7 separate regions of the Homo sapiens genome follow, and all the other regions are linked to region 5. The links are contacts of gene promoters, found by promoter capture Hi-C in human tissues and cell types (Jung and others, 2019). All regions are on one chromosome and are shown on one strand. The core of a region is centred on a gene start or on the middle of the fragment in contact, and the rest is flanking DNA. Distances in the headings are between cores, read along the strand shown. Region 1 overlaps MACROD2 (mono-ADP ribosylhydrolase 2). Region 2 overlaps MACROD2 (mono-ADP ribosylhydrolase 2). Region 3 overlaps MACROD2 (mono-ADP ribosylhydrolase 2). Region 4 overlaps MACROD2 (mono-ADP ribosylhydrolase 2). Region 5 holds the start of FLRT3 (fibronectin leucine rich transmembrane protein 3). Region 6 overlaps MACROD2 (mono-ADP ribosylhydrolase 2). Region 7 overlaps MACROD2 (mono-ADP ribosylhydrolase 2).

Region 1 (4,253 bases), core at 1,386-3,885, 840 kb after region 5:
ATTTTCATGGCTCCTTTGTCCCACACACTACACTCTAAGTTCCCTGAAGACTGGACCAGGTCCCTTTATCAGCAGTGTCTACCCAGCAGCTAGCACAATACCTTGCACATGGAAGGTGCTTATTAAATTCTTCCTGAATAAATAAATGAGTGAATGAATAAAAAATGAATGAATGAATACAGTCAAATTTTAGAGCTTTCCAGAAGGGAAATATTAAATAAGCATATTCTAATTAATTTTTTTCTTAAAAGACCTAAGCTCAAGATGGTTTCCCATTTTGATTTTTGAGATCAATCATAGGAGTCAGAGAAGCATTCATAAGACAGTGAGAAGCTTCTAAGATTCTGTCATAGTTACCAGGGATCCCAAAATGTGTACAACAGTGGAGGAAGAGGCAAAAAGGAAAAATCTGCAAATCTTGTAGCCTCAGGGACTCCAGTGGAAAAAAAAATGGAGGTTGGTGGGAGTCAGTTAAAGAAGGCCAAAAATCTGGAGACCGGACAAAACAAGTTGGGGAAGGAATATTGAGATCTACCAAGAGAAATTCCACTTGCCTTTATAAAATTGGTAAATATTTCTTTCCTTCTCTTTCCTTTTTTATTTTAGAGAGAGGGTCTCAACATCCAGTTGTGCAGTCATAGCTCATTGCAGCCTTGAACTCCTGGGCTCGAGCTATCCTCCTGCCTCAGCCTCCTGAGTGGCTGGGACTATTGGCGCCTGCCACAATATTTGGCTACTGTTTTGTTTTTTTTTCTTTTGTTTTGTTTTAATTTTGTAGAGATGGGATCTCACTATATTTCCCTGGCTGGTCTTGAAGTCCTAGGCTCAAGCCATCCTCTAGACTTGGCCTTCCAAAGTTCTTACATTAGAGGCGTGAGCCCCTCACTTGGCAAAACTTGTAAATCTTTATGGAGTGCCTCTCTTGAAAAAGATCTGAACATTGACTAGTCAAGTGCAGATTAATAATTATCAGCAATTTATTAGCAACCTGCCAGTAGAGCCATACTAAAATGAAAATACAATTAATTGGGGAAGCATTACTGTGTATGTGGCTTGCTGAAAATTTACTATTTTACTAATCTGTAAGAGAAAATGCTTGAAAGCTTTCATGCATGTTATGAATAAGTTTGCCCCCATATTTCAAGTGACATAAAAACCATTCAAAATGAACAGAAACTTAAAAGAATATTAATTAAAAAATATAACGTGAACATATATAAACTGTGTGTGTGCCTGTGTGCGTGTGTGTTTGTGTGGGTCTGTGTGTTAAACTTTTTTTATCTTTTTCAGGGACTCAAATATTTTGCAAATTTTAAATAATAAATCTATGAAAATTAATTTAACCCTAGACTCAAAGAAATTATCCATTACTATTCAACTTTATCTAATATATAATTAATTTTGCACATTGTTTCTAAATAGTTGCAGGTTTGGATTATGATTTCCTGAAAATGCTTCCTTTGATATTTGCTTGGATGAGAAAGTGAGAACTCACTCACTGTATGTTTGCTAAACAGACCTATGTAGTTAAAGAGAAGCTGTCCAAAAAGATTCTCTATTTCAGCCCAATGGAGCATATTCATTATCAGATCAAAGTGATAGGATTTTTTTTATCTTCTCCTAATTGGGGGTAGGCAATTTCCTTACTCACTTTGGCAAATCGAAGGAATGTCTTATTGTAGAGAAAGAGGCTGTGATCCCTAAATGTCAATGCAAAAACCTTCATCACATCACTCTTGTCCCATGTAGCACAGAGAATCCATTCCATTAAGGTGAATTCTGGAAGCTGGCTGAATTTCAAGCTGTGTTTTAATTCAATTTTTTTTTGGCAGACAGTTTTAAAGGGAAGTCAAAGGTTATAGCTTGATAATTGGGTATAAATACAGTCATTTCAGTGGGCCTCAGATTCAGTCATGCAGAACCAATTTTTAGCATGGTGATATCACGGTTGCATATTTTTAATTGAAGCACTCATAAGGAGTCCTACTGTAATCTGAGTATTACTACATTTTTACCCCTCATGAACTCAAAGTATAAGTTAATGGTATACAATGAAATGTTGCATTGTTGACTTTATCTTTCTTACCTACATGTCTCCTGAAGCATAGACTTCGAGATAAAATGTTTTGTTCATTGGTTAAAAAAGTGTCTGTATTCTCTAAGCTACTAATCAATAATAGAAGTTTCTTTTATAAGTCTGAGTGCAGCATAATTTATCACTGAAAACTTACTTCATTGCTAAAGCCCAAACATATACACCCAAGACTTTTAAATCATGATTTTCCTAATGCTTATTGTGCATTTAAATGGTAATTTTAGACTATGTAGATTATTATATAAATGACAAATTTTTATTATTTTTACACTCAAGTGCAATGTCTCGTCTTAATATAAAATCTTTAAATGTATGGTTTCTTCATATCTGTTCTGCTTTCTTCTATTTGTAACAAAATGTTACTTGTGGCCTTTATTATTTAGGAGAAGAATTTTAAATTGATTAAGATAATAATCCAGCACATATTTTTTAAGTAAAATATATGAGCATAAAAGATTTGCATGGCCACATTTTCTTAATCCAGTCTATCATTGTTGGACATTTGGGTTGGTTCCAAGTCTTTGCTATTGTGAATAGTGCCGCAATAAACATATGTGTGCATGTGTCTTTATAGCAGCATGATTTATAGTCCTTTGGGTATATGCCCAGTAATGGGATGGCTGGGTCAAATGGTATTTCTAGTTCTAGATCCCTGAGGAATCGCCACACTGACTTCCACAATGGTTGAACTAGTTTACAGTCCCACCAACAGTGTAAAAGTGTTCCTATTTCTCCACATCCTCTCCAGCACCTGTTGTGTCCTGACTTTTTAATGATCACCATTCTAACTGGTGTGAGATGGTATCTCACTGTGGTTTTGATTTGCATTTCTCTGATAGCCAGTGATGGTGAGCATTTTTTCATGTGTTTTTTTGGCTGCATAAATGTCTTCTTTTGAGAAGTGTCTGTTCATGTGCTTTGCCCACTTTTTGATGGGGTTGTTTGTTTTTTTCTTGTAAATTTGTTTGAGTTCATTGTAGATTCTGGATATTAGCCCTTTGTCAGATGAGTAGGTTGTGAAAATTTTCTCCCATTTTGTAGGTTGCCTGTTTACTCTGATGGTAGTTTCTTTTGCTGTGCAGAAGCTCTTTAGTTTAATTAGATCCCATTTGTCAATTTTGGCTTTTGTTGCCATTGCTGGATTAAGAAAATGTGGCACATATACACCATGGAATACTATGCAGCCATAAAAAATGATGAGTTCATGTCCTTTGTAGGAACACGGATGAAATTGGAAATCATCATTCTCAGTAAACTATCGCAAGAACAAAAAACCAAACACCGCATATTGTCACTCATAGGTGGGAATTGAACAATGAGAACACATGGATACAAGAAGGGGAACATCACACTCTGGGGACTGTTGTGGGGTGGGGGGAGGGGGGAGGGATAGCTTTAGGAGATATACCTAATGCTAAATGATGAGTTAATGGGTGCAGCACACCAGCATGGCACATGTATACATATGTAACTAACCTGCACATTGTGCACATGCACCCTAAAACTTAAAGTATAATAATAATAAAAATAAAATTTAAAAAAAGATATGCATGGCAAACTTTTACAATGAATATAGAAACCATGAATAGTCATTTTACCACCCAGGTTTCTTGTATAATTACACTACTTAAAATGTTTAGTTGCTGAATGCTAATGGTAGACTTAGTCATATTGACTTAGCTATTGGAAAATTCATGAAATATAAGATGACTTTGTGCCTGCCATTTGGGGGATGAAATAGAAATTTCAGAGAGAGAATTCAAGCAAAGAGACATTACAATAATTTATGATAGGAGTTTTCATGTTTAGTTTTTTATACTGATGGCAGTGGCGGCCCATCTGGAGGAGCCACTGCAAAGACACTGGCTGCAATGGCTAGGTGCAACCATGGCTGTGTGCTCCATAGAGCCAGTGGGGGCCAGGAACAGGCGGGAGCCCCAGCCCCTACCAAGTTGATGGGGCAGGAGCCCAGTGTTCCTGGGTGCAACAGCAGCTGCCCGACTGTGGCTCCAGACCTGGGAATCTCTGCACTCTCGGAGGCCTGGGAAGCCCTCCTGCCCCAACAGGCTTAGAAGTGCCTGCTTCTGCCCCCTGGCCTCTCCCTGCTCCCAGTACCCTCTCTGCTGCAGAGCAAAGTTGTGGCTGAGGCTGGGTGCTG
Region 2 (4,328 bases), core at 83-2,582, 970 kb after region 5:
ATGTCTTTCTGAAGGTCATTCCTTTGACATCGTTGACTATATTTCATTTCTTTCTCTTCTGGTGATCAAATGCATGAGCTTAGGAATCAGACAGATCTGAACATAAATCCTAACTACTGCTAGTAATGTGACCCTGGGCAGATAAAATACACACACACACACACACACATACACACATACAGATGTGTATCTTTTATTTTGCTCTATAGAAACGGGATCATATTTTATACTCTTGTCTGCTGTTTGCCTTACTCACTTAACAGTTCATTGTGGAACTCCTTCCAAAAGAGTTGGTGTAGAACTCACTCATTCTTAAATATTATGGATGTATCACAAATTATTCAACCATTCCTCTGTTGATGGATATTCCATTTGCTTCAGACATTTTCTACTCTGGGTTGGTGATTTCATCTTATGGGATAAATCCCCAGTTGGGGGATGGCTGGATCAAAGGACACATGTATATTTAATTTACATTTAGTGGGTATATTTAATTTTAATAGATGTTGCCAGATGGCCTTCTAAAAAAACTGTACCATTTCACATTCCACCGGCAGTGTATGAGTAGCTCTTCCTCAAAGCATTATAGTCCTGTTTAATTTTTTACAAACCTGGTGCATTTCCTCAACTACTATAGAAATTGAGCATCTTTACAAACGTTTATTAGCCATATTTGGATGTTGTGTTCTGTGAACCTGCTACTTATATCCTTATTCAAGTTACTTAACCTCCCTAAGCTTCAGTCCCTTTACAAAGTTATTATGAAGATTAAATAAAATATTTATGTGAAGGCTTTGCCCAAAGCCTGGCACAAGTGACATGCTTGGTAAATAGTAGCTGCTGTTAATTCTTTTAAATTCCTTTTTCCTTATTTAGTTAATCTTCATCTTCATACCTTTAAACATGTATCTATAAGCATTTTCCAAAATTCTGCAAACTAATTTTTCTCTTTGACATCTTGCATTCTTTCTTTCTGAACATTTCAATTTTACAGTCTCTATTCTGTTAAAAGACCAATTTGAACCTCTAATCTTGACTTGTCTTTTAACAGCAGAATTGACGGTTTCAATACCTTGCTGGACCCCACAGATTTATCTTACCATCTACTCCCTGCCCCAGCAGCAAACTCTGCCTCACAGGAACACAACATTCCCATCTGTGCTCCTGTATTCCTAAAGGCACCCTTTTCTCCAAGACCTATGGGCTTGAGATCATAAAGTCATCATGCCGCCTTGCCCTAGACGTTCATGTCAGTAGAAAAGCTCCATAAATCCCCTTTACAATGGCTCTTATAGCCATCCTCTCTTTCATTGTTTTTACTCTAGTTCACTCCATCAACAACAATCAAAATAGCTAACTAACCAGTTTTTCCTCTGCCAGCGTCTCACTTTTTCAATCTATTTGTTACATTCCAGGGAAAATCTTCTAAAACAATAACAGAATCATGTCACTCACTCAGAACCATTTATCAGTTTCTTCTATTACAGAGTAACATTCTCACTGGCCTTGGAGAACACTGCCCCAATTCCTTTATGCACCGTATTTTTTTCATGCCCCCAGTCTCTTTAGTTTCTACCAACACGCCAGTTCTGATCACTCACAAGTGTTTTTTGCTCTTCTGGCCTAACAGCCTACAATTCCTCTTCCTTCTCCATCTGTTGGAATTTTATTTATTTTCAGAGCCTCTCACTCTGTTAAGATCTTCCACGTTTACTCACCTAGAATGAATCAAGTATTCTAGCAGTTTCCTATAGTATCCCCCAATTTAATTATTCTGTAATATTTATTATTATAGTAGGTCATTTTCACAATTCTTCTTGGCCTTTCCTCACCACAAGCTTCTTGAAGGCCAGAATTTACTTTTTGTTCCTTATAATATTTTCTTTCTTTTCTGTGTTTCCCAATCTATTTCTTATCTAGTAACTTTTAAGTGCTCCTTTATTTATTTATTTTAATTTTGGAATAAATGCATGACTGGGGTTGGAGATTAGGGAAAATTGAATCTGGTGAAAGAAAGGAGCGAGTTGTCTTAGATTCTCAGAGGTAGCAATGGGACCATGGGACTGGTAGCAATGGTGGCCATGGGACTGGTCCATCCCATAGTTGTCTTTTATTTGCTTCCCATACAGTAGTAAGTGAACACATGTTTTATAAGTTGGTCAACATTTACCAATCAGGATGTTTTATATAAGCATCTGGCTTCTCTTGAAATAAGGAACATCAGCAAGACTGGATTGGCATTCCTGGACGGTATATGGATGGATGTGAGGTATGACAAGGTTTCTCTTCAAACAGCCTGATCAACCTTTTGTTCTTTAATTCCCAGTACCCCTCCCCATCTCTTTCTTCTTCTTTCCTTCTTTCTGCCTTTACTACATGCCCAGGCATGCCACAGCACCAGTGGCGTTATCAGCACCAGCTCATATTCCTTTCCTTATTTGGAAAAGGACTGGCTCTCTAGCTCACTGCAGACGACCCCTTCCCGCTCTCCCCTCTCTCCCTTACGTGCCTGCCTTATCTAAAAAAAAAAGTTTAAATATTTAGCCAATCGGGTCTAGCTTAGATTGTGAGGTCTGATCCCAGCCAATGGGGAAAGGACACAGGGGCAGGATTTGCATCAGGAATAAAAACTTCCACTCTCCTTTGGTCTGTGTGCCCTCATGGCAACTGGCCATACGGGAGGCACCCCTCTCCACAGAAGTAAATTTGCTTTGCTGAAAAATCCTTTGTCTGAGTGCTCGTTTGCTTACAACTCTGAGCTTTATTTCTAACAATGGAGATGAGCAACTGTAGCCTTCCTTGGGTTGGCACAGTCTCTCATCCTTGCTATAGCCCCCACCTACATCTCATACCCATGAATATTACCTACGTGACACCTATGGGCATCTGAGTCTGTAATCACAGCACTAACTCCATGTGTGACCCTGGGCTGGCCAATGGATCCTTGGGCCTCGTGTTCTCATCTGTTCATACTTTATAATTACACAACTTTAGTTTATCAAGAGTTCCTTTTATTTGTTTTTTTTTTCCCATGGATCTCATGTTTAAGATATTTTCTCCATGAAACAGCGCACCTATTGAACATATTTACATTGTTTCACTTACACTGTCCTCTTTTTCCAAAATGATTCAGATTTTAAACAATAGTCCAGAATTATCTGGTTATAATTATATTATGAAATCTCATAATTTTTATCATGTTTATTTTGCTAACTAAGCAACAGTTAAGGCACACAAATAAATGCTTATGCACTGTTTGTTGCTATTGTTTGCTGGGGTTTTTTTAGTTCACTGCCTTCTATCCCAATCACAAGTCCAGTCGAGTTACTGTGACAGCCTGACATGGGCCTCTGGTATCAATGGCTGGGTCCACCAGGTCTGACAATTCCTGTGATACCATTAGGAGCCAGTCAGAGCTATTACAATGCTGAGTTGATAAAATTGTGTGTGTGTGTGTGTGCGCGCACACATGTGTGTATAGAGACTTGAGTAGCATGTGTGGTAGCCTTGTCGTGAATGTATGGATAATGCTTATTATTGAAATAACCAAATAAACAACTATAGACCGTAACATATAAGGTAAAATTTGAACCCTTTCCACTCTCAATCTCATTCCCAGTTATTTCTTTATTGTTTTGAATGTAATGGTCTAACCTTTTTCTTTCCCTTGTGTGCATTTAAAGAAACTGTGAACATACTATAAATTCTATCTTTTGATTTGCTCTTTTCTCATTACTTCACAATGTGAATTGGATATCCTTTCATTCCAGGACATTTTCATCTGCCTCATTCTTCTTAATTGCTTCCTATCATTCCAGTGAAGGCGAGTATCAAAAAGTATTTAGCTAGTTTCCTGCTGATAGACATTTAGTTTGTTTCCAATCCTCTTTCCAATTTAATGATCAGTTTTCTTGATGAAGAAGGTGGAGGTAAAATAGTTATTACCTGACAGTGTTTCTGGCCAAAATGCTAACTACTGATAGGTATTTGAAAGTTGACTCCCTGTATTCTTGCAATATCCTCTGAATTATTCTGTATTCTGAATTATTTGTAACTGAATTATTCTGTAGTTTACTTTTTCCTAAATGAGAATCTGGACTTAATATTGGCTACCCTTTTTATTCATAAAGCTAATAACTCAGGTTCTGAGCACTTATTATGTGCCATGCGCATGCTAAATACTTTACATACATTATCCCATTTAATCCTTCCAGTAGTCCTAAAGGCAAATACTATACTATTATGTCAATTTTACAGAAATGTAGACAACTAATTTGCCCAAAGTATCATAGGTGTTTAAGGGGGGAGAGTTTGAATACACACAAACC
Region 3 (4,189 bases), core at 686-3,185, 990 kb after region 5:
AACCCTCAGATCTCACGAGAACTCACTCACTATCATGAGAACAGCATGGGGGTAACTGCCCCCATGATTAAATTACCTCCCACAACACATGGGGGTTATGGGAACTACAATTCAAGATGAAATTTGGGTGGGGACATAGCCAAACTATATCACTGCCCCCTACTTCTGCTGTTTTCTCATACACCAGCATGCCATATTTTGGGGTAGTGTGTCCTGAACCCCATCACTATCATGTGATGGATGATTGGGTTATATATTCTATCCAGCCCTTACTCTCAACCTGAGATAGCTAAAGTTCATTAAAATAGATTTTTGCTTCTACTATGTATCAGGGACTGGTCTAGGTACTTGACACATATCAGTTAATGAAACAGAATTATCACTATCCTTGTGGAGTTTACAGAAAATAAGCAGTAAACTTAACAAATAACTAAATTATATAGTATGTTAAAATTGATAAGTAGAATATATATTTTTATAAAATGAAGATGAGAAGGATCAGAAGGGTCAAATAATTGGGGCCAAGGTCCAAGGTGGGGATGTCACTGCACAGTATTTAATGGGGTGGTTGGTTAGGACAGGCCTCATTAGGAAGGTAATAGTTAGATAAATTTTTGAGAGCAGTTAGGGAATTTGACAAGCAGATACCTGTGGCAAGAGCATTCCAGGAAGTCAGAACAGTAATAACAAAGACTCAGGAAGGAGGCCAGTCTGGCTGGACACTGTGGCCAGAGGGAGAGAGGAGGGGATGAGTGCCGAGGTGCAATACCACATCTGATCATGTAAGTCCATGCAATGACCTTGACTTTTACTCTGAGTGAAACAAAGCAGTTTTAGCATTTTCAGCAGAGGAGAAAAACACTCTGATTTATGTTTTCAAATGAATCCTTCTGGCAGTTAAATGAGAATAGACATAGAGAGATTTTTGACATCATTGCTACTTGTCTGGAGTTCTCATTAAGACACAGACCTAGAATTGTCCCCATAAATATTTAAATCAGAGTCACCAAACATGACCTGGTGTCAAACCACAACCTGGACAGAAATTAATTGCATTGCACAGCTAAACCTGGGGTCTCCCTGCTGGCCATATCAGTGGACTTGCCCTGATCATTTTCTTAATCTTACATTAACACACCACATTATATGCAATTGAATTCCTTAGATGCCACTTATTATTTTATGGCAGTTTTACTGAATGTATCGAAACCCTTAAAGATGTTCTTTTTCTTTGACATAACAATTACACTCTTAGAAATTTCCTTAAAGAAAATTATCTAAAATTCAGAAAAGAATGCCAAAAGATATTTACCAAAGTATAATAGTATATAATAGTGTGCGTATATATGTATATATAAAATAGTGATAAATTAGAAATGATCTAAATATACAGCGATGAAGAAATGGTTAAAATACTATGGTGTATTTATAAGGTAAAACACTATACACCATTGAAAACAATGTTAATTATTGGAAAATTCTTATGAAATAATGCAAATAAAAGTAGGAAACAAAACATACAGAAAAAATCTAAAAGGAAATGCAGCAGATGTTAGCAGAGTCTATTCGATTGTGTAAAATATTCTTCTTTATGTTCCTCTGTATTTACCCTTCTTCCATCCACCATTTTCAAATTATTTTATGAAGTTTTCTCCAGAAGATACCATAATGAAAAAGCTTAGAGACAATCCCAAGGTCAAGTTCAGAGTGTATGATAGAGGCCCTTTGGACTTGTTCAGGGTGAGAGTGGTGTATCTGTAGGTGATTTAGGGTGACGTTTGGAATCTGGAGATCTCAGTCTACATGAATACATTGCTCATCTGGCACTTGGGTAGGTTATACTTTCCCAGGTAGTTCAGCTTTAAAGAAATGATCATATCCTTTAAAAACAATACCAGTCAGGTGCAGTGGCTCATGTCTGTAATCCCAGCACTTAGGAAGGCAGAGGTGAGAGGACTGTTTGAACCCAGGAGCTCAGGACCAGCCTGGGCAACATAGCAAGACCCCATTCTTCACACAGAAAAAATAAAGTACATAAAAATAAAAGTAATATCAAAAAATGAAAATACAATATTTTAAAACAAAATCTTGAAGTGAATTCACAAATTTTTCAGATGTGTGTTTAAATACACATCTTTCTCCTTGAGAGTCTAGCTTCTATGCTAGTGGTTCTCAAAGGGGGCTTAAACTTGTTAGTAATGCAGATAATTTTAGGATTCTATCCCCGACCTACTGAAACAGAAACGCTGATGGCAATCTATTGGTGGGGCTCAGGCGTGCTACCCCAAAATGCTGCACCTTTGGCATTTGAGAAAACAGCAGACACAGAGGAGGGTCACTCTTACTTTTTCCTCTCCCTTGTAAAATCATAAGACCCTTATTTGAGAGGTGCCTTCGCTATACCCAGAAGAAACATCCTTATCTCTGAAGACACCGGGACATAGAAGAATCTGAGCAAACAGGCCTTGCTAAGTTTCCCCGAGTTTATCACCTCCTTTGTCCAGTCATACTTCTCCGGGACTGTCCACTCTTCAAACCTAAGCATAAAAGTACACAAGCTAATCTGTTTCTTTGGGTCTTCATTTTCTCATGAAGTCTCCTATGTCATGTAAAACTTATATTAAATAAATCTGCATTTATTTAATATCTTCTTTGTATGGAGCCTCCACCATGAACCGAGCAATGGGCCAGGAAAAGACATCTTTTCCTCCCCTACAACGTGTTTTAACAAGCCCTCCATGTGATTGTCAGGCAGGGCTCTAAATTTGGCAAGCACTGCTTGGTGTTGAGTATTCAGAAGTGACAGACTTTGGTAGACTCCAGGCTCAGCAGGCAGCCCTGCCTTCAGAGCATCCGTCCATGAAAACGGATGGAAAATGCAGAAGGGCCTCTCCCTATCAGAAGGAGAACTGAGCCCCAATCAAGGTGTAGATTAGTGGTTGGGCATGTAGAGGAGGGCTGATGGAAGATTATAAGCAGACCATTTCCAGAGCAACAAAAAATGTAGGACTGCTTCCTATTTCAAGTTCTATTTCTAGTAACCCAAACTGATGTTAGATGATCACAGCAAGAAAAAAAAATGTGCCAAAGCTAATTCAGGAAACTGCCACCTGTTTGGGGTGGGGTAGTCAATATCACAGGTAGAATGGAAGACTTCCTTTGCACTTCTGACTAATGGATTAAAGTGACAAAATTCAAACTGGGCTGTTAAGTCATTCTCTATAATATTGTGGAATCGCTAGGTTTTATAAGCTCAGAAGGCATCTCAAGTTTAGAATCCAAGAGTAAAATTCTGTTCTCAGCAAGCTTCTTACTGCCCTGAAGTAATTTCTCAGATGGGCCCACGTGTCTTCTGCCCCTGGCTATCTCTTACTTGTGGCTTGCATAAAAGCCTCTACGTGCACTGCTGTCGTTATTTTTTTCTTTGAAAACGGAGGCAAAAATACTTCAGCTTTGATGCCTTATGAAAAGAGAAAATCGTGACATCTTCTTAATATGAAAAACTAGACAAGGTTGTTAATATTTAATTGTCTAAGCCAGATGCAGTAACACATGCGAATGTGTTCATAAGTTTGGAACAGGGGATGCATTTGATTTACTCTTCTACAACTTTCCAAGTGTATTTTCATTATTTTACAGAAGCTCATATAAATAACTGATAAAATCGACTTGTTAAAAAATTAATTGGATTTGTAATATAAAGAATTCTTTTTACCCATAGTAATATTTGTTCGTTATAGATTTTATCTTTAATTTTTAAACTTCTGTTATTTTGAACCTGGTGAGGTCTACTTGGTTGAACTATTAATGAACCACATGCCAACTAAAGTTGATGTGATTCTTTCATAAATCAGTATATGCATTTATAATGCACATCAATTTTTTTTCTAGAAGATACTATGTGTGAAAATGTATTAATTTAAAAGAATTAGTTAACTTCAAAGAGATGCCTTGGAAATTTTATCTTAAAAATTAAAAAAGAAAAGAAAATAAATAACTGAGCTTCAGACAATTTATGCTCAGTCCTCAGAACATAAGCTCTAAACCATATAAAACTTTATTTGGTCAGTTGCTCAAAATAGTATCAAATGGGACCATCTTCCCAACCAGACTTTCTTCTCTTCTCTTGCAAAACTTCTCTTCTCATGTCATTTTCAAGAACTTGCTTTATGAATACCTTTTCTTGTAC
Region 4 (3,824 bases), core at 827-3,326, 760 kb after region 5:
GGTTCACGCCATTCTCCTGCCTCAGCCTCCCGAGTAGCTGGGACTACAGGCATCTGCCACCACGCCTGGCTAATTTTTTGTATTTTTAGTAGAGATGGGGTTTTGCCGTGTTAGCCGGGATGGTCTCGATCTCCTGACCTCGTGATCCACCCACCTTGGCCTCCCGAAGTGCTGGGATTACAGGCGTGAGCCACCGTGCCCAGCCAGAAAGGTTCTTCAGTTCTTTATGTTTGAATAACACCATGTTGTTTGTGTGTGTGTGTGTGTGTGTGTGTGTGTGTCTGCAAGAGAAAGCAAAAGAGAGATTAAAATAGATTTAGAAAACAATCAGAATTGTGAGAATATAGAAGGGATTCACTAAAAGAATTTCTAATATCACTAAAATCCTCAGCTGATGTATCAATGAGTCTGTGATTAGCTAACAAAAGAGTGTTTTTCCCCCCAGGTGGACAATTTGGACTTTATGCAGGTGTGCAGTAGTAGAACCGTGAAGGTAGATACAATTAAAGTTCTGAGAAATGAAAAGACACTAGGCCACGAATAATGGAGCTTGCCAGTAGCAGCAGCTAGTAGATCCCTTTCTCCACGGGGCCAAAGAGTTTGATTTGATTTCCAGCTCTCAACTCCTACTCAAGGTGCAATCATCAGTCCCCTGCAGGGTACTCTAGGATTCTGGAGACATTAAGAAGCACAGAACGTGGCTGCATCCCTTTTTCCGAATGGGCTTTGGTGCAAGCAGTTCGTAAGTGGCTAGTAAGAATTTATTGTTCATGTATGTTTTTTCTCTTGGGAGTCTGTAATTATTTTAAAATATTAGCCATAAATCCCATGCTAATATATATATAAATATATATAAATACGTATTTATATATATAAATATATATAATATATGTTTTTTGTTTGTTCCTTTTTTTGAGACAGAGTCTTGCTCACTCTGTCGCCCAGGCTGGAGTACAGTGGCGTGATCTTGGCTCAGTGCAGCCTCCGCCTGCCAGGTTCAAGCAATTCTCCTGTCTCAGCCTTCTGAGTAGCTGAGACTATAGATGTGCACCACTGTGCCCAGCTAATTTTTATATTTTTAGTAGAAACAAGCTTTCACCATGTTGACCAGGCTGGTCTGGAGCTCCTGACGTCAAGTAATCCGCCTGCCTCGGCCTCCCAAAGTGCTGGGATTATAGGCGTGAGCCACTATGCTAATTTTTTTTTTTTTTTTTTTTTGAGTTGGAGTCTCACTCTGTTGCCCAGGCTAGAGTGCAGTGGCGTGATCTTGGCTCACTGAAACCTCCATCTCCTGGGTTCAAGCAATTATCTTACCTCAGCCTCCCAAGTAGAGGGAATTACAGGTGCTCGCCACCACGCCCAGTTAATTTTTGCATTTTTAGTAAAGACAGGGTTTCACCACATTGGCCAGGCTCGTCTCGAACTCCTGACCTCAGGTGATCTGCCCGCCTCGGCCTCCCAAAGTGCTTGGATTACAGGCATGAACCACTGTGCCCGGTGCTAATTTTTAAAAGTATTAATTTGCTTTTGCGAGACTCAATTGTATGCCAAAAATTACCTCAATATTTGACTTGGAGACTGTAGACCAAACTTGCATCATTATGGAAAAACAATATGCAAAATTTGGCCTTGGCATTGCCCAAAGTGTGGTATTTTGCATTGTACTATTTGTTTCTGTATGTCATGGAGTATGTATAGTAATAGGAAATGATGAGTATCTTTGCACAAAATGTAATGCTTTTACTAACATCTGTCAGCTATTTTGTGAGAATATTGCCAAAATATAACATTTATCTTGGTGTATAGTTCAATTTTGCTTTTGTGAGTGTTTCTTCTATTTTATTGCCACTAATATAGCATAACAGATGTCTTTCAGATGTGAAAAATCAATTATTTTTCAATATACCTCAGTAGTTATTAGGGCAGATTAATGTAAAGTACCGTAAGAGTAATGTCCAAATAAAATGTCATAAGTGAACAATACAATTCAATGGAGAAATAGGATTGAGTTGATCTTGGTACCTTTGTGGAAAACAGGGAGAAAAAAATGAACAAGTACAACAAAAATATGCAAGGCCATGCTTTGTTGAAAGATCAAGTAGATGCTTTAGTGATAGTATTTTCAGTGGAATGGTCAGCTGCCATGGAAAGTTAGGGCAAGGCCAAAACTGTTTATGCTTCATTTCTATCGACAAACACGTAGCTGGTTTCTAATGAAGATCAATAAAAGGTAATCTTGGGAATGGGTATTTCAGTATCCAGAAGTCTTTGCAGGAGAATATGAATTATGAAATTTATGAAAGCCTGAGTGTTACCTTTTGGATGCTGGTGTTTGGCAAGTTCATAACAATCTTTATGTTACTTATCACAAATGTTATTTGTTTTCTAAAATTTTGAATTTCAAGGCCTCAACACACTTGAGAGAGAGCTGCCAAATAAACTTAAACACTGTTCTACAGCAGAACCAGTATGCCCCTGGCACCTAGGTTTAGAGGGGCCTGGATCTGGTTTCATGGCACGAGATGCATGCAGTCACACAGAGCCCCATGCTTAGAAGGGACCAATATTAAATGCTTGATTTGATGCTCTGCTCCTACCATTCTGAAATTATTAATTTTTGAACAAAGGGTCTCACATTTTCATTTCATAGCAGGTCTCACAGATTATGCAGTGAGTCCTGAGGGAAGCCATGAAAGGATAGGGCTCTGTGATGATTCCAACCTTTCTCACCTGAATTTGGGTGGCGGCTCTGTAGCTGCTCTCCTCATAACAGTGTTCCTTTATTTCTGTATCCCTTACTCTGCCTACATTTTCATTCTGATATGGAGGACAGACCCTCTGGGATGCTAAGTTCTCTGAAAGGCCTGAAGTGTCCTCCATGCTTGACTTCAGGCACACGTAATGCCTTTGTTGGACATTTATGCCATGACTCACCTTCTTGCATAGTTATTCACTCCTCCAGCTCTAACACTATGCGAGGCATCATGCTTAGTGCCGTGAATAGAGTGGTGAATAAGATTTAGTCCTTGCTATCCTAAGATTATACTTTAGAAGGATAGACAACCAAGCCAATGGTCAAATAAAAGAAGTTATGATGGTGGTAGAACAGGGCTCACAGGAACATGAAGGAGGAGCACCTAAGGTGGTGATATCTAAATAGAGATCTAAGGTCTAACTGCAGGTAGATGTTTCCCCTTTGGGGGGAAATCAGAGAGTGTTCTAGAGAGGGAACAGCATGAGCCAAAGCTCAGAAGTGAAAAGCTGCCATCTTCAGGATAATTTTCTCCGTAGAAAATTGCACTACTAGTTACATTCAGAGTAGGTACTAGCCAGAGATTCATTTTAGAGACTTACAAGTTTGCCAGCAGTAAGCCTATGAATTAGTTAATGGTTTTGGCTGAGAGGCCACCACAGAATATCCTGCCTGTACTTTAACCAGATTTTTAATCACAAAGTTCATGTAATACATGTCTGAACTGGAACATGGACATCCATGGACACATTGAAAATTTCAGTTTAGTGCTTAGAAGCCCCAAACATTGTTGACTGGAGGAAAAAATGTTATATTAGTTAACAAAGGTATATACTGCTATGGAATGAATATTCGTGTGTCCTCAGCATTCATATATTGAAGCCCTAACCACTAAAGTGGTGGTATTTCAAGTTGGAGCCTTTGGGAGGTAATAGGTTTAGCTGAGGTTGTGAGGATGGGGCCCCATGATGGGATTAGTGCCCTTAGAAGAAGTGCCCTTATAAGAAGAGTAAAACAAGAAAAAAATCTCTCTCTCCACACACCTGCAACAAGGAGAGGCCATGTGAGTTCA
Region 5 (3,764 bases), core at 1,047-3,546:
GAGAAGAAACTGGGGTAAAGATAATTAATAGCTTGCTAACAAAGTCTGACAGCCACAAGATTTCAACCAAATTTATTTCACACTGCTTCATTTAGCTCTGAAAAAGTTTTGATAGAATTGTAGGCTCCTTAATTAACACTTGAAAGCAAAAGAAACATACCTTCTATTTTGCTGCCACATTTAGTTATGACAGATTTTCTTACTGTTTTTCTTCTTTTTGTAAAAACTTTATTTGCTATCCAATTATATATCTCACAAACGTTATGTTTGGGAAGTGTTTAATTGTGCATTTTGAACCCAGTCATAATTGATTTTAAAGGGTGGGGTGCAGCGAAATGAAAAACCCAATTAGTAACTGGTAGACAGTTTTACAGAACCGCAATATTAATGAATTCATTATGTTTATTCATTCACTAATATTTTGCTGATCCTTGGACTTGATGTGTTTTGGTTGTGCTCTTCAAAAAATCAAATTTTAGTTTTCTTAGTAAATCTATGCGTTTTTGTAACTCTGTTTTTATTTCAGGGTAATAAATAGATGTGCGTTTGTCTGTGTGTATATATATGTGTCCAAACTAAGGGGCATATCTCTGATTTAATTTTCCCATGGTAAAACCTGGCATATTATCATTAATATTTGTAGTAGTTGGTAATGTTGATATTATTGATTGTGGCACTTTTAAAGGATTAATTTTTCTTTACTCATTTCGGAAGAGATGAATATTAGTCATCTGTCACTTTGGGTCAGGTATAAGTGATTCTCCCTGAATATAAGCAAATTTATTCTTTATGTTTAGGCTGGTCAGGATATTTTTATGCAGTCAGAGATAAATGAAAGGCATTGCTACAGCTGAAGGACTTTTCTAGTGGCTTTATTTATGTTGTTTCTGGATAATAAAATAACATAGATGAGCATTTTAGACAGATTTATTAATAGACAGATTTATTAAGAATGTTTAAAATAGCCTTATTATTAAAACCATTAGAGATTTTGGACTAAAAATTGAAAAAAAAATCAATTTTTTTTCTTTTAAATTCTAAATAAAATAATAAAAACAAACCCCCCAGATGTTGAGAAGACATGGATGGGCCTGTTGCACTCTTTACCTATATGCAACCATTTTGTTTCAGACCTAATTCAGTGAACAAAATTTTTTGAGAAGATACATTTAACTACTTTTTCAAGCTTTGTAGTATAAATGCATTTCTTCCAATATAAGATTTTCCTATTATAAGTTGCAAAGAATGGATCCTCTGCAAAACCCACTTGATAAGGGCTCTACTCATTTATTTTTCTTTCCTGCTACCCCAAACTCACTGCATACATCAGGCATAGCTTCCAGGGTGAGCTTTGTTAGTTTTTCTGAGTAGACTTAGCCATTTACTATGCTAGTCACATACTTCACTTGCCTAAGCAATGGATTTTGGTGTTCTATTGAAGAGGGAATATGGTTTGGAAGAGTGTCTCCCCCTCCTCTGAGTTCAATTTACTAGTTGAGATTTGCAAGCCTGAAATGCTTGAAGCAGCTCAGGCACGATAGCAGTGCAAGCTTTAAAATCTAGGTGTAGCTGTTAATCCTTTACAGAGGCACATAAGTCTCCAGGAGTAGCTCGGCTAGCTGTGAGCAAGATGTATGCTTTTCATGTACTGCGTACTCATGGGCTGAGGGATTATTGATTTTCTTTCACAGTTGTAAAAACAGCAATTGGTGATCATCCCACACGTACAGTACACACCAAGTTGCTTTCCTATCTGTGAAGAATCTCCTTGTATTCTTTAATATTTAACATTGAACTTTCCAACTTGCTGTTTTCCATAAGGCTCTTTTCACATAGCAATTACTCAAGACAGAAAATAGCCACTTACTATCTTTTATAAATGAAAGAAGGTTCTAAGAAACTTCTTACATTCAGCCATGATAGTGAAATTTTTCATTGCTGGCTTGCACGCACATATATTGCTTGTTGTGGTGACAGAGCAAACGTTCCTATTTGGATTTCTCATAGTATCAAGTCGTTTCTTTCTAGAGAGTAAAACCAAGCAAACTTTCTGGGACAATCATAAGAAAAAACATGGAAAACACTTACCAGGAAGACGAGAAAAAGCAATCCTATATACACTGCCGCTATAGCTGTAATTCCATTGACAGTGAATTGGAGTAATAGCCCTCCCCCGTCTCCCAAGCTCTGCGTCCAGTCCACACAAAGCCCACGGCAGCTGCAGGCTGAGCTTGTCCTGCTTCAGATCACTCCTACACTGAGGAGTGAGCGAGGGAGAGCATTCCAGTTTACTGCACACAGCCCACCTCCAAGTCTGAAGTTTAAAGCTTCACCTCGCAGTGGCTGAAGAAGGGGGTGATGTCATAGATGGGCAGGACTTAGCCAAGATCTTGTTCAGTGAGGTAACTGGATAATCAGACAGATGAGCTTTGCAAACGCTAGAGGGGGCGAGAGCAGCCAAAATGAAGCATCAGCCTGCCAAAGCTAGGATGCCATTTGGTTTGTAGGCAGCCCTTTGGAATCTCAACATTTTCTAAAGTTTACTACAAGGCAGTGGTAGCATACTTATGTATTTTTTTTAAAAAGCATGTTAGAAAGATATTTTTAAGATCACAATAGAAAAAGACAGGCTTTGTCTTATTTTTAAACCATCTGTATTGAAAAGAAGTTAACCAAAATCAAATTAGTTTTATTATTCACTAGCTAAAATAATGTTATAATTGTGGAAGATGTATGCCAGTAATCCCAACTGTGAATGTTTATTCAACATATGAATAAACAGCAGATTCAAATATATACATCAGGGCTGGGTGTGGTGGCTCACGCCTCTAATTCCGGCACTTTGGGAGGCCGAGGTGGGAGGATCACCTGAGGTCAGGAGTTCGAGACCAGCCTGACCAACATGTAGAAAAAATTAGCTGGGCGCCCGTAATCCCAGCTGTTTGGGAGGCTGAGGCAGGAGAATCACTTGAACCCGGGAGGCAGAGGTTGCAGTGAGCCAAGATTGCACCATTGCACTCCAGCCTGGGCAACAAGAACGAAACTCCATCTCCAATATATGTATATATATACACGTGTCACTGATTCATTTAGTTATGGGAAGGGCAATAGGAATGCCAAAAGATTTTTTTAAATGGTATTAAATGGTCTGTTCTTTTGGAGGCGAAGAAGTTACTGTTCTCTATGTTTTAGAAAATGAAAGTATGTTTTATGTACTTCTGCTACGTGTTTATATTATTTAAAATGGATTATTTATATTTAACGATCCCCCAATAAAATGTTTTTAAAAAATTTAATAGAATATTTTCCTTTCTAAATGTTTTTGCTGATCTGAGCATGGGTTTAGATATAAACATCTTAAGAAAAAAATCTTTCAGGGTGGTTTGCCTGGATTGAAATTATTTTAGTTTAATTTAGGTACATGAATAAACACTGGACAATTGTAAGACGTGGAGATTATAAATTTCTATGCCTAATTAACAGAATTATACTTGTATTTTTAATTATGATTTTTGTAGACTGGTTTCTGCTATTTGGTCAACAATTGCTTTGTGCCCGTAAGTTTTCCATCAAATAAGTGTATTTCACTTGTTCATGTTGGTGGTAAGAACTTAGCTTTTATATTTACCTGGAGGACCGTTGTCTTAAACTAATATCTTTATTTGCTCTATTCTTAGAGGTGCATGACCTTCTCCTTTGTCCTTTCTCAATTTTTCCCTGCATGTTTATTTCTGAAGAAGGCCAGCTAATAGTCTTTCCCAGGA
Region 6 (3,867 bases), core at 494-2,993, 710 kb after region 5:
TTTGTAATACAGTTCCCAGTCATTGGAAGGGGACATCTCTTGGTCTGAGTAATATTCTTCATAATATTAACACCTGCTCAATATTGAGCAAAACTTCAATTGCCCACTTCTGGCCATATATCCAACTTTAGAAAGTCATGTACTTCTAGATTTTATAGAAGAATACTACTTCTAGATTTTGATTTTTTTAAATTAATTTCTCTCTCTCTCTCTCTTACTTTTTTGAGACAGGGTCTCACTCTGTCACCCAGGATGAAGTACAGTGGCATGATCATGGCTTACTGAAGCCTCAAGTTATCCTCCCACCTCAGTCTCCTGAGTAGCTGAGACCACAGGCATGTACCAACACACCCATCACACCCATCTAAATTTTTAAACATTTTTTGTAGTGATGGGATCTCCCTGTGTTGCCCAGGCTGGTCTCAAGCTCCTGGGCTCAAGTGATCCTCCTGCCTCGGCCTCCCAAAGTGCTGGGATTACAGGTGTGAGCCACCACACCCAAACTGAATTTTTTAATTTATATTTTTCAGATTTGTTACTGTACCCTTCTTGCCATTGAGTACTTAATTTCTCCATCATTGTTTCTTGGAGTTTTAATATCGAAATGCTTCATTATATTGTTCAATAATGCAGAATGTTTGAATTTAACATAGAGATTTTTAGGCCCATAGGCTGAAATAAGTCATCAAAAGATGGAAAAACATATGGTGATGAGGCATGTCATACATGCCAAGCAGGATTGGAGGAAGCTGGAGAACTTGAAGCCATTCAGGGACAAGAAGATTAGCGAGAGGATTTCAAAGAAGTTTGGAGCCCCAAGTCATAAGAAATAAACACATGATTCCTTATCTCAGACTTTACTAGTGAAAGAAAAAATAAAAAACAAGCTCTCTTTCCTAGGGATATAAATTATCCTATGACAAATAGAAAGTGAAATTCTGTAGGTTATTTTCATAACAGACCTTCCAGAGAATTTGCTGATGACTGGAAAAGGGGAAAATGCAGGAAAAAAAAGGTATAAATCCTAAGAGTTTCTAAAGTAGCCAAACAAGGCAGGAAAATGTCTAATCTTATTGTGCAAAAGGGAGGTGGAATCTGTGTGGAAGAAACAGTAATATAAAAATAATGGTACATGTTCTCATCTGTGTAATGCTCAATCATTTCCAGTATGCCCTCACCTGGCCACCTGTAGGAGTATAGCATCCTACAGCAGAATGGGACGTGTGTTTGGCTGAGGCCTGACTCTCGCCCCTTATAGTTTATGACAAGAGTATTGGGGCCAAGCAGGGAAGAAACATGGAAGAAACATCTCATTCTAGGGCCCACAGTGAATTATGGCCACTGCCGGGACAGAGCCAGAATCATCTCAGGATAGGTATCTTTTACCCACAGATTTCTGCCTCAGGATTGTGGATGAACTTGAAGGTCCCTGTCTTAGCACCTGAAATTCCATCAGCAGAAGCTCAGCGTGCCATAGTTTGCATAGAACAGAAGCAGGAAATCTTAATGATGAACTCTACTTACATCCCTTTAATGGGATCATGGAACTGGTAGGCAAGAAGCCTAGATTGTATCTTGCAAATTTAGAGCCAAATCTTACTGAAAGGAATGAGGGAATATAGATGAGTAGTGACTACTTTATTTTTCTACAACACTGTTTCCTTTTTGAGTCCTGATTCTGCTGACATGGCACGGAACTTTAAGCTCAATGGTTTAGGTGTTTCTTTCCCTTCCTGGGGTTGTATCAACATTCCTGGAAGTTTGTGTGGAACTAGGCCTGGGTGAAAGGGACCCAGCTGTTCCTTGAACCTAAGTCTGCTTTGCTGTGTCCTTCATTCCTATCTATGTGGCCTCTCAGGTCTAGCAAACCTCCTGCTGCTTTGGTGGCTTGCTTAGGGCATAGTAAGCCACTAGGACTCCATGTTTCTATGACCAGGCAGTGGACTGAATTTGTTCCACAGACGCATTTTATTTAGCCCACAAAGTTTTAAGAATCTGGAAATTTTATTTGAATAATGTAGTTTTCAGATTTCTCTTGAAAAATGGGAAATACTGTAACTCAGTGCCTGCATTCTTGCATAGGAGCAGCCAGCTGGCTGGGGCTGTGCCTTTGCATAGGGCATTGCTGTGCCTTTGCATGGGGCATTGGCTCTCCAGGCCCACACAGGCCCCTCCAGTGTCCATTGGATTCCACCTAGCTTCCTTCACCCACTTGAGTTTTTTGCATGATGCCTCCACGCTGCACACCCACATTCTCTCTCTGGAGTTTGTCCCTCTCTGAGTGGCTTCTTTTGAAAGATTGTCTTGGGCCCCTGTACTCCTGGGCCTTCAGATCTTCCTTTACTTATCGCCTCTTCCCTTTTCTCTTTCCCCCAGTCAAAAAGAAGCTTTTGCAGTCTGGGCATGGTGGAGAGGAGCTCTTTTCATTCACTGTGCTTCTCTCTAACACTTTGTCTGTACCCCTGATTATGGCCTCCACTTCAGATGCCAGTCACACATCCAGGCTTCCCGTATTTCTGACCAACCAGCTGATCAGAGGTTCCCACGACACTCTCCTCGGGTTTGATATTTTATTAGAATGGATCACAGAACTCAGGAAGACACTTTACTTAATATGACCAATTTATTACAAAGGACACAATTCAAGAATGGCCAGACAGAAGAGATGCATGGGGCAGAAAGAGGCATGAAGCTTCCAAACCTTCTCTGGGAGCGCCACACTCCTTGTACCTGCATGTGCTCAGCACCCCTGAAACTCTCTGCACTCCATTGTGTAGGGTTTTTATGGAGGTGTCATTAAATAGGCATGATTGATTAAGTCATTGGCCTTTGGTGATTGAATTCAATCTACAGCCTATCTCCCCTCCATGGAGGTTGGAAGGTGGGGCTGAAAGGTGCCAACCCTCTCATCACATGGTCGGATCCTCTGGCAACCAGACCTCATCCTGAAGCTATTTAGGGGCCCATCAAGAGTAATCCTATTAGCATAATCTCAGGTGTGGTTAAAGAGCCTTATTATGAATAACCAAAGAGGTTCTTCTTACTCCTATCACTCAGGAGCTTACAAGAGTTTTAGGGAGCTCTGTGCCAGGAACTGGGGACTGAATATATATTTGTTATATCACACTATCAGTTTTGAAATTCAAAATGGCACAATCAAGATTATTCCTGTTTTCTCCCTTAACACACTCCTTCTCTGAGTCAATGAGTACATCTGTGCGGAGTGTCTCCCATTTGCCCTCCAGACCCACTCTTCCCATCTTTCCCATTCTCTCTGCCTGGAGAGCTGATCTGTATGGACTGTCTCAATGGACTTCTCTGCCTTCTGGCTTCTTTTTGGGTTTGGTCAATGGGCAGCTCTCCCAGGCAGTCTAAGGTAAAGAGGAGAGTAAAGGTGAGGTGTTTGCTTTTTGTGATTGTCTACATGTGCTGGGAACTACACTTTCTTTTCAAGCCTTTTGGCTTGAAAATGTTAACAGTGCCTGCTTGCTAACTTCAGGGAATGTCACTAGCTCTGGGGGTTGCTACAGCCTTCCCACATCTTTGTAAATAGTCTCTATTAAACACTCAAATTACTCTGTTTGAAAGTGCCATTTATTTCCTCTTGGGACTCTCACAGATAAAACGTTATGTGCAGTTGTTTATCCATAGAAATATTTAATAATATTTATACAGATTTTAAGTTTTGTCTAAAAATACATTCAATGTTAAAATGCAGCATCTGAACCTTATGTCAATGTAAGAGTTTTCTACAAAACAGTCATATGTGGTTCAAAACACAAGAGGCTGAATTGAAGCTTTTTAACTCCTACATCACAACCTTTTAACACACAAGGAATCCTGAGTGCACCAGTTTCTAAGAGAACC
Region 7 (3,833 bases), core at 396-2,895, 670 kb after region 5:
GGAACCCAGGAGTTTGGGACCAGCTTAGGCAACATAGGGAGACTCTGTCTTATAGATGCTGTCTCCAAATAAGGTCACATTCTGAGCTACTGAAGGTTAGGACTTCCACATACCTTGTATTTATTTTTATTATTATTTTTGTAACATAGAGTGTTGCAGATAAGGCATTTCAGCAGGTATGTTTTGAGCACAGACTGTGTGCAACACTTTGTGTGGGATGTTCATCGGGGAGAATAAGGAAGAGGAAAGCAAAGATGACCTGATCATGGTGCAGGTTCTTGAGAAACTTAAAGTCTACTGAGAAAGATGGATGCACACGCAGATAACTGTATTACTAAGCAGAAATAATTTAAGTATGAAAGGCTCTTTGGCGCTGAGAAGGACTGTTCCCCCCTTACATAAGAGGGAGAATCAACACAAACCACAGACATGTAGTTTACGTAGTAAAATGCATGTACTTAAAGTGGATGGTATGGCATGACTGGAGCCACTTTATCTGTTCATTTATTGCTTAAAATAAACTATGTTTATTATCACCTTATTAAAGAAGTACCTATTACTTTTAAAAAGGTACTTCTTTTAAAAGACGTACCTATTACTTTGCATCATGGTTGGATGGATTTTTTTCCTTTTCTCTTTCCTTTTCTGTGGGTTTAGTGGAGGAGGAGTTGGGAAGCTTGAGTAAAACCCTTATTCTGCCAGAAAATGTAGCAGTTATATGTAATTGGCTGTCTTTACTCAGAGAAACAGGAGAACCTGTGAGGTTCAGCATGGTGGACTTTGATTAAACAATGATTATATATGAGGCAGTTGGATCCTGCTCCAAATGCTGGTTGCACAACTTCAGACAAAAGGAGGTACTACAGGAAAAAGCCAGCAAATGTACCCCATTATTGCATCCTGGTCTATTTATGATGGGTGTCCACCCAGGTCTCTGGGGACAGCCTAGGTCACACTGATCTTGGGTCTCCAAACACTCCACCAAGAGTAGTTTTAAAATATGCCCCTTAAGTTGATTCCTCCCCAAAGAAGCCTAAAACATATAGGATTCTTGGCAAACTCTGTCATCATGACATTATATAAGATTTATAAAGCCCTCCTAAAGATTGCTGTGGGATTATGGAAGCTTCTTGGGTGCCTTCTGGCCCCTCTAATCAACTTTTCACACTGTTGAGGAGATAGGGGAAGCAAACTCATCATCACTCCAGGTGTGTATCTTCTCACACTTGATCTTCTGAACTCAGAGGACAGAGATCTGATTATAAGAATTATTCTTTATTACCCAAAATTTCTATAAAGAGCATGTTTTGTTTATCTGAGCAAAACTATATCATGAGACTAATTATCCCTCTTGGGTTTTTGTTGTAATTAAGCTACACTTTTCCCCCTGATTTTTAGAAATTTAGCTTTTGAAATAGAAGATAAACTAAAGAAAACTCCTTCCCAGCTAATTTTTTTCCATAATTTTTTTCAGTCTTTGAAACACAGAGGTCTCTCCCCACCTCCCTATTTTTTTTTTTTTTTTTTTACCACTGAATACATTGTTTCGGCTTAGTTATGGATTGTTTTCTGAAAATTTATCTCCTGCCTTCCAACTAAATTTCAACATAGAAGCAAGTGCTTTTATTCTCTCTTCTTTCCCAGATATATAAAGTGTCTAGTTCTTGTGTTATTGGCAAGATTATGTTTCCTTTGTTTTCTTAACCTCAGCTTCATAAAAAAAGCTCACTTCATGCTTCTGCTCCAAGATTGGAGAGCTCAAACATTTATAACTCCAAAAACAACATGTTGCCCTACAGAAATTTACCACTTGAATTTGAGCAGTGTTGAGGGGTATGCCATGATGATAGGCAGCAATGGCAAAAGCAAAGGTAAAAAGAAGAAAAAGAGTTTTTTGAAATGTGAGCTTTGAATTATTTGTCGGACTAAATAAATAGCATTACCCTATCTTCCCTACCTTATGCAGAACCTCATTTTAGAAAATCAGCACCAGCCAAAAGTGTAATGCACCATGCCGCCACTTAGGTAGTTACACATTATTTGAAGATATTCCTTAAAATGCCTGCTAAGCCACTTTTATCTCTTCTGCTATAGCAGAGGCACAGAGCAGTAGAAAGCACCTAAATAGCTTCATGTTATTCTTTACTTGAAGAAGGAATTATAGTCCCAAGATCACTATAGCCGTGGTAGGCACTCCTAAAACAAATGTACAGTTCAGGTCATTTAATTTTATGGTTATAGATAAATGCAGCGAGATGAGAACAAATAACTTAAACAGTGATTAGCCTTAAGTCTACTTGTGTCAACACAAGATTTGAGGACAGAATGAATCTTCTATTTATTTTCTGGGCATTTCTTAAAACTATGTTTGTTCCTATTAATCCATGAAATATCCATTAGTTCACATACCCACCGTTTTTTATATTTGTAGCTCAGCAACACAAAGACAACAAAAATATAATAATAACAATAAACCAGCAAGTAAATTAACTTACTGTTGTTTGTTTTGTTTTGTTTTGAAATGAGCGTCAGTGAATCTAGTGCTATATCTGCCAATGTCTTGCTTGTATCAGGAGCTCTTAGAAAAAGTTCACACCTAAGAGCACTATGAGTTGGAAATGCCTATTTTAGATGTGTTTCTCCCATGTTTTTCCTCCAAAATCACTCAGTGAACCTGGTTTTACTTGACTTATTTTGGAGTGACATCCTCAAAGCATGCTGAGGACTGCAACTACCAAATATAAAGCTGGAAAGGAGTGATGCTGCCTGATGCTAGTGACAAGTTGTTCCTTGTGTGGCAGACAGATTCAAATGGATTAATGTTCAAGCCAAGCCCTTTCACCTCTACTTTCTCATGAGGAGTGACAGAGAAGAATGTGTGGCTTGTCCATAGACCTCCTGACTCTTCTGCCACCTTTGAGTTGACACCACTTTCTGATCTGAGACAGTTTGTCACTTAGGGTCAGTAGTTTTGCCATTCAGTGAAGTTGTACAATGGATTTCCTCTGTGGTGGGAGGAAGAGCAGGAAAGAGAGAAGGAAAGAGAGAGGAATCGGGGTGGGGTAAGAAATACAGAGAGAGAGAGAGTGAGAGAAGGAGGATCTCTTTTACTAAATGTTATCTTTGCCTTTTTAATTGGTATTTTTAGATAATAATAACTTTCCTATATTAATAGCTAAACCCTGTCCTTATTATCCATTCAGTGTGTATGATATGCTCATACCTGTGAGGCTCCGTGATGGGAAATGACATAGTACTCTTTGTTCCCCCAAGTTCTTTTTGCCACTTTTCCTGGCCATGGTCTCATCAAAGCATTTGGAAAATGTGCAGCTGTGGTCTTCCAGGAGGGGACAGATATTGTACTCATCGAGTCGGTACCTGGTGTCTCCACTCTCTCATGACTTAGCCCTTCCCCTCTCTCTCCATCCAGCCATGTGGTTTGTGTTGAATTAACTGTCCTTGCTGCAGGATGAGGCCCTAATGTGTTTAAGCTAATCACTATTTCCTATCCCTTGGGTCATGGTGTTTAGCTCAGGGTTGGTCATGTGTTTTTAGCAAGGGAGCCTCAGGGCTTTTTGTGGCCTTTCCAACTCTGGCCTCTACCTCTTGTTATGAATGAAGATGCATTGAGCGCCGTGTGCTCTTGGCACTCATGTTATGACCAGAGGACAACAGCATCAGGCAGATACAGCAGAAGTCAGAGAGGGGAGATGCAAACAAATAGGGTGTTTTGGTTGTTCCCTGTAGCCCATGCTACTGCTGGATGTTTCAGTTATATGTGATAGTAAATTCCTTTTATTAAAGGCTGTTTGATGGGTTTTTCTTATTTGTCA

What was found. Contacts are between HindIII fragments. The study calls those that stand out against the background at their distance.
Region 1: a fragment that was not itself captured here is called in contact with the fragment with the promoter of FLRT3 in region 5 in 1 of the 25 tissues and cell types used here (dorsolateral prefrontal cortex).
Region 2: a contact is called between a fragment that was not itself captured here and the fragment with the promoter of FLRT3 in region 5, in 1 of the 25 tissues and cell types used here (lymphoblastoid cells).
Region 3: a contact is called between a fragment that was not itself captured here and the fragment with the promoter of FLRT3 in region 5, in 1 of the 25 tissues and cell types used here (dorsolateral prefrontal cortex).
Region 4: a contact is called between a fragment that was not itself captured here and the fragment with the promoter of FLRT3 in region 5, in 2 of the 25 tissues and cell types used here (dorsolateral prefrontal cortex and mesenchymal stem cells).
Region 6: a contact is called between a fragment that was not itself captured here and the fragment with the promoter of FLRT3 in region 5, in 3 of the 25 tissues and cell types used here (lymphoblastoid cells, mesenchymal stem cells and mesendoderm cells).
Region 7: a contact is called between a fragment that was not itself captured here and the fragment with the promoter of FLRT3 in region 5, in 1 of the 25 tissues and cell types used here (bladder).

What each region holds. Positions count from the first base shown.
Region 1 is chr20:15,171,817-15,176,069 of GRCh38, forward strand. All of the region lies in intron 5 of MACROD2 (mono-ADP ribosylhydrolase 2), which reads left to right. Among named protein-coding and RNA genes, the nearest start is that of MACROD2-AS1, 240 kb to the left of the region's middle. The HindIII fragment of the contact is 6,985 bases long and covers 1-4,253 here.
Region 2 is chr20:15,302,214-15,306,541 of GRCh38, forward strand. All of the region lies in intron 6 of MACROD2 (mono-ADP ribosylhydrolase 2), which reads left to right. Among named protein-coding and RNA genes, the nearest start is that of MACROD2-AS1, 370 kb to the left of the region's middle. The HindIII fragment of the contact is 4,210 bases long and covers 1-3,437 here.
Region 3 is chr20:15,327,560-15,331,748 of GRCh38, forward strand. All of the region lies in intron 6 of MACROD2 (mono-ADP ribosylhydrolase 2), which reads left to right. Among named protein-coding and RNA genes, the nearest start is that of MACROD2-AS1, 400 kb to the left of the region's middle. The HindIII fragment of the contact is 4,395 bases long and covers 1-4,133 here.
Region 4 is chr20:15,095,612-15,099,435 of GRCh38, forward strand. The region is part of intron 5 of MACROD2 (mono-ADP ribosylhydrolase 2); the gene reads left to right. Among named protein-coding and RNA genes, the nearest start is that of MACROD2-AS1, 170 kb to the left of the region's middle. The HindIII fragment of the contact is 7,566 bases long and covers 1-3,824 here.
Region 5 is chr20:14,335,316-14,339,079 of GRCh38, forward strand. It overlaps FLRT3 (fibronectin leucine rich transmembrane protein 3), which reads right to left and starts at 2,297. Exons shown (of 3, transcript NM_198391.3): 1 at 2,089-2,297. All of the region lies in intron 3 of MACROD2 (mono-ADP ribosylhydrolase 2), which reads left to right. The HindIII fragment of the contact is 3,050 bases long and covers 1,369-3,764 here.
Region 6 is chr20:15,041,240-15,045,106 of GRCh38, forward strand. The region is part of intron 5 of MACROD2 (mono-ADP ribosylhydrolase 2); the gene reads left to right. Among named protein-coding and RNA genes, the nearest start is that of MACROD2-AS1, 110 kb to the left of the region's middle. The HindIII fragment of the contact is 3,002 bases long and covers 243-3,244 here.
Region 7 is chr20:15,008,264-15,012,096 of GRCh38, forward strand. The region is part of intron 5 of MACROD2 (mono-ADP ribosylhydrolase 2); the gene reads left to right. Among named protein-coding and RNA genes, the nearest start is that of MACROD2-AS1, 81 kb to the left of the region's middle. The HindIII fragment of the contact is 4,174 bases long and covers 1-3,732 here.